2 separate regions of the Homo sapiens genome follow, and region 1 is linked to region 2. Evidence: promoter capture Hi-C in human tissues and cell types (Jung and others, 2019). All regions are on one chromosome and are shown on one strand. The core of a region is centred on a gene start or on the middle of the fragment in contact, and the rest is flanking DNA. Distances in the headings are between cores, read along the strand shown. Region 1 has its middle 9.5 kb from the start of LILRA5. Region 2 holds the start of U2AF2 (U2 small nuclear RNA auxiliary factor 2).

What was found. The method cuts DNA at HindIII sites, captures the fragments that hold promoters and counts their contacts. A contact is called where the count stands out against the background at its distance.
Region 1: a fragment that was not itself captured here is called in contact with the fragment with the promoter of U2AF2 in region 2 in 1 of the 25 tissues and cell types used here (H1 embryonic stem cells).

The regions. Positions count from the first base shown.
Region 1 is chr19:54,321,314-54,324,013 of GRCh38, forward strand. No RefSeq gene overlaps it. Among named protein-coding and RNA genes, the nearest start is that of LILRA5, 9.5 kb to the left of the region's middle. The HindIII fragment of the contact is 5,873 bases long and covers 1-2,700 here.
Region 2 is chr19:55,653,685-55,656,384 of GRCh38, forward strand. It overlaps U2AF2 (U2 small nuclear RNA auxiliary factor 2), which reads left to right and starts at 1,351. Exons shown (of 12, transcript NM_007279.3): 1 at 1,351-1,469. The coding sequence starts at 1,421. RefSeq lists enhancers at 477-1,146, 2,097-2,176 and silencers at 1,197-1,246, 1,337-1,386, 1,597-1,736. The HindIII fragment of the contact is 13,132 bases long and covers 1-2,156 here.

The DNA.
Region 1 (2,700 bases), core at 194-2,693, 1.3 Mb before region 2:
GGGTGCAGGTGGGCTGAGTCCAAAAAGAGAGTCATCGAAGGGAGATAGGGGTGGGGCCATTTTATAGGATTTGGGTAGGTAAAGGAAAAAGAGGGGTTGTTCTCTGGTGGGCAGGTGTGGGGGTCACAAGGTGCTCCGTAGAGGAGCTTTTGAGCCAGGATGAGCCAGGAGAAGGAATTTCACAAGATAATGTCATCAGTTAAGGCAGGAACAAGCCATTTTCACTTCTTTTGTGGTGGAATGTCATCAGTTAAGGCAGGAACCAGCCATCTGGATGTGTATGTGCAGGTCACAGGGGATATGATGGCTTAGCTTGGGCTCAGAGGCCTGACACCCAGAAAATGCCTTTTTCTCACGAAACTCATTATTCCAGGTGAATACAAACATTAAGAACAAACTTGTACAATTACAAAGCTATTTATTCCAAAATTATGATTTGTAAAACTACAATGACTTGAACCCACTTAATTTCAATCAAAGAAAGACTCAATAAATTCCTGGGCCTCCCCACAGTGGAGTCCTGGGCAGCTGTGGGTGAGATGAATGAGTTATCTTGAAGGCTGACCTTCCAAGACGTGTAGTTGTGTAGTTGGGGTGGCAGGGAGAAAAGAAAAAGAAAGATTCAGGACGTTATCAACAGTTAACTTTATTTTACTCAGAACCAGAGAAAAATGGTATAGTGTTATGTCATTGTGTGTGTATTTTGTAATCTATTTTTTAAAATGAAAGATTAATCAATACCTTTAAAAGTGGGTAGTTGAGAGAGAGAGAGAAAACAGTGCAGAGGAGACAGAATAAAGCTAGACTGACATCATTGTGTCTTGTTTCTTGTTTTGGTATAGAAATATAAACATACCTTTGGGAGGCTGAGGTGGGCGAATCGCAAGATCAGGAGTTCAAGACCAGCCTGGCCAACATGGTGAAACCCCACCTCTACTGAAAATAAAAAGATTAGCTGGGCATGGTGGCACACTCCTGTCATCCCAGCTACTCGGGAGGCTCTGACAGGAGAATTGCTTGAACCTGGGAGGTGGAGATTGCAGTGAGCTGAGACTGTGCCACTGCATTTGTAGGGACCAGCCCCACAGGGTCGGTGGGTCTCTCCCTGTGTGTGGTGACGATAGAGTGTAGAAATAAAGACACAAGACAAAGAGATAAAAGAAAAGGCAGCTGCGCCCGGGGGACCACTACCACCAATGCGCGGAGACCGGTAGTGGCCCCGAATGTTGGGCTGCGCTGTTATTTATTGGATACAAGGCAGAAGGGGCAGGGTAAAGAGTGTGAGTCACCTCCAATGATAGGTAAGGTCACGTGGGTCACGTGTCCACTGGACAGGGGGCCCTTCCCTGCCTGGCAGCCGAGGCAGAGAGGGAGAGGAGACAGAGAGAAAGACAGCTTACGCCATTATTTCTGCATATCAGGGACTATTAGTACTTTCACTAATTTACTACTGCTATCTAGAAGGCAGAGCCAGGTGTACAGGATGGAACATGAAGGCGGACTAGGAGCGTGACCACCGAAGCACAGCATCACAGGGAGACGGTTAGGCCTCCGGATAACTGCGGGCGAGCCTGACTGATGTCAGGCCCTCCACAAGAGGTGGAGGAGCAGAGTCTTCTCTAAACTCCCCCGGGGAAAGGGAGACTCCCTTCCCCAGTCTGCTAAGTAGCGGGTGTTGTTCCTTGCCACTTACGCTACCGCTAGACCACGGTCCGCTTGGCAACGGACGTCTTCCCAGACGCTGGCGTCACCGCTAGACCAAGGAGCCCTCTGGTGGCCCTGTCCGGGCATGACAGAGGGCTCGCACTCTTGTCTTCTGGTCACTTCTCACTGTGTCCCCTCAGCTCCTATCTCTGTATGGCCTGGCTTTTCCTAGGTTATGATTACAGAGGGAGGATTATTATAATATTGGGATAAAGGGTAACTGCTACAAACAAATGATTAATGATATTCATATATAATCATAACTAAGATCTATATCTGGTATAACTATTCTTGTTTTATATTTTATTATACTGGAACAGCTCGTGTCCTCTGTCTCTTGCCTCGGCACCTGGGTGGCTTGCCACCCACAGCATTCTAGCCTGGGCGACGAGCAAGACTCCGTTTAAAAATATATATATATACATATATAAACATATTCCTGAATGTCTATACTATAAAATATTTTTAAATATAACTTATAAATCTAAAGATAATACCTTAAAAAAGGAAATAGAATTGAGTTCCTATCAAATTAGGGCATTACTAAACAAGGAAGAATTATTTGTACTAGAATGTAAGCAAAATTACTTGACCATATATTTTATAATGCATATATTATTTATCATATTATATAATAAATGTATACTTTTAAATCAAATTATATATTATGTAGTGACATATAGTTAATATTATTATATAATTTTGACTATATATAGTAAAACATAAGTGAATACACCCTCAAAAATGTTTAATTCTTAAAATATGTATGGTCAAAAATTCTAAATTTCATCCTAGAGAAATAGCTGACTCCACATTCGGAGAGAAAATACAGGAGATGAAGTCAGAACTTCTTATCATGCAAGAAAGCAAAGACATCACCACATACCATCAGATTCATGTTACCTGAACATAAAGTCTATCATGAAAAGTTCCCAATGGCAAAATGTGGAATATTTATAGAATCAAATAATATAGGTAGTGTATTAAAACTAATGA
Region 2 (2,700 bases), core at 101-2,600:
AGAAGCGTGGACACTACCCGCTGGGCTACCCAGACCGGAGCGCGGCGCGAGAGGCGTGAGTCGATGACCTCTAGCGAGGGAGGCCACCTAGCGGCCAGGCCAAGTCTGGAGGATACTTCCGTTGGGCCGCCAGGGGGCAGTAACGCCAGATCATCTGTCTCCCGGAAGTAATGCCAGATGATCCGTCTGCCGCGCCTGCGCGGCGGGAAGAGCCGGAGCGCGTTGATGTGGTTGCCGAGACAACCAAGAGGGTGGCCGGATTTAACGGCTGGGGATTAAGCACTTTCACCGTTGTAAGGGAAATCTCGCGCACGCGCAATGGGGACTGAAACCTGGTCCCCGCAACCCCCTTCACGGGAGCAGTGGGAGAGCGCGCCACAGAACGACTTTTACGCAGGCGCAGAAGCCTGTTTCCCCTCACCCGCGGCTTCCACCCTGCGCAGGCGCAAAAAGCCGCGCTGGCAACCTCCGCAGCGGTCGCGCGCACCCTTCATCCCTCTTGCTGCTTTTGTCTGGCACAACCTTCTCAGGCCCTCCGCGAGGCCGGCCCTTTTTTTCTTTCACTTTCCCCACCCGGAGAGCCAGGTGCCGAGAACTAGGACCTCGTCCCCTTCTCTATCCCTTCCCCTGATCCATCTCGTCTCTGTTCTCCTTCCCTTTTCCGTTCCCGAAGCCGGAAGGAGCCGAGGTACCCACGGAAAAAGTCGAAGCTGTCCCCGGAGAGTGAGGCCTTCACGAAGCGGTGGCGGAAGGAGCCGAAGTTCTCTGATCGGAGGCGTGAGCAAGTGGCATCTCCGGAAAGAGCCGAAACACGGACTCGAGCTTAATCCCAGGAGGGGCCCGAGGGCGAGATCCGGAAATCTCCGGAAAGAGCCGAAGGCCGGGACGGTTAGGATTGTCGGAAGTGGCCGATTGCTTGGACAGGGCCGGCGGAGAAGATCGGAGCAAGTCCGTGGAAGAAGCCAAAGACTGGGACGGATTGAATTGTTGGAAGAACCCGAACTCGCAGAGGGGACTGGGCGCAGTGGCACACGAGGACACACGGAAACCTCCGAACGTTGAGGAGATAATCTCGGAAAAGTTACGGAAACCTGGGAAGTCGGCGAAACCCTACGTTCGGGTGTTTTCGGAAGCAGCCGAAGCGGCCGCCTGCTTCGCCTTCGTCCAGTATCCGGAGATAGCCGAGGCGCTTCGGAGCCAGGCTCGGGGGGAGGGGCAAGCTCGCGGGCGGGCGGGCGGGTGAGGGGGCGGAGCCCGGGCGGGGCGGGGAGGGCTGCCGGAGGCTTGATTAGGTAGGAGGTGGCGAAGCGCCGGCGGCGGCCGGAAGTAGCCGAAGCCAGCGGCGGAAGTAGCCGAAGCGGCTGGAGCGGGCGGCAAGGCGAGGCGAAAGCTGCACAGGGCCCTACGCGGCCGCCTCAGCATGTCGGACTTCGACGAGTTCGAGCGGCAGCTCAACGAGAATAAACAAGGTGAGGGCACCGGGGTCGCGGGGCGGAGGTGTGGGCGGCTCCTCGCGTCGCTCTTTGCCCCCCCGCCATTTTCTCCCTCGCTTCCCCCCACTTCACGGCCGCGCGGCGCCCCCCAACCCTGGTTCCGTGGCGCGCGCCTCGTTCACGTGACGTCCCCAGCGTTCCGCCGCGCGCTAGGCGAGGGGAAGGGGGCGGCGGGGCGCGGGCCCGTGACGCATGCGCACGGCGGCTGTCCCTGCGCCCCACGTGGTCCTGGCGGAGGTGGCGCGGGGGACGCGGCACGAGCGCGCCAGATGCCTCGACGTGAACTTTTGTTTTTTAAAATCTTTTTGGTTTCTCTGAAAAGGAGATTATGTTAGTCCCCGTAATCTCTTTTCTCCCGCTGCCTTGGCACTTCCGCTTCCGGTCGGGCCCACGGCAGCGTCTCCACGCCCCCTTTGTTTCCAAAATGGCGGTTGTGAGAACTTGGTGGGGGGGCCCCTTTCCTTCCTTCACGTGGATGAGGGCAGAGCCGTTTCGGCGGATGCTTGGAGGCCACGGGCCCCTCGCGTACCCCTTTTCCTTTTTGCTGATTTGCTCTGATCTCTCCCGCCAGGTGGTTTCTGCCCCGTCTGTTGGTAGTGGGGCGCCTCATATTAACGTGTTTGGCACATGTTGCCTAAAAGCATCTGCATTCTTTGAGTGTCCGCACGCACACATCCTGCATATGCGGGGCTTTTGGCGGTCCCGAGAATCGCGATATGGAGTGTTTGAGACAAACCTCAAATCATTTACAATCCCAATCTCAGGGCACCTGATAATACTCAGTCTCAGATCTCAATATAGAGATAAGAAAACAGGTTCTGAGGGAGGAAGAGGGATCTGGCCCACTGCGCTAAACTCTTCACTTACGGGGAAGGTGGGAGGCAGGTTCCCTTCAGGGTATCGAAAATTGTGATGGGTTAGAACAAAAAGCCTGGGGCCCTGATCTTAGGGATTCCAATAATATTAGAAGTGGGAGAGTTGTTAAGACGCTTTAAAAATCCTCCGTGTTTCAGTTTGTGAAGAAATACAGGACCAGGGAAGATTGGAGACTTGTTTCTTTTCAGGCTTCAGCTGCCCATGTTCCTAGCTCGTTCGGAGGACGAAATGAGGGCTGAGGAATTTTCCTTTGAACCCGGGCTAGAGTTGGGTAGGGGCTGTATTAGGAAACAGTGTCCTGGGGAAGCAATAACGTTTACTGAGGGTCTGA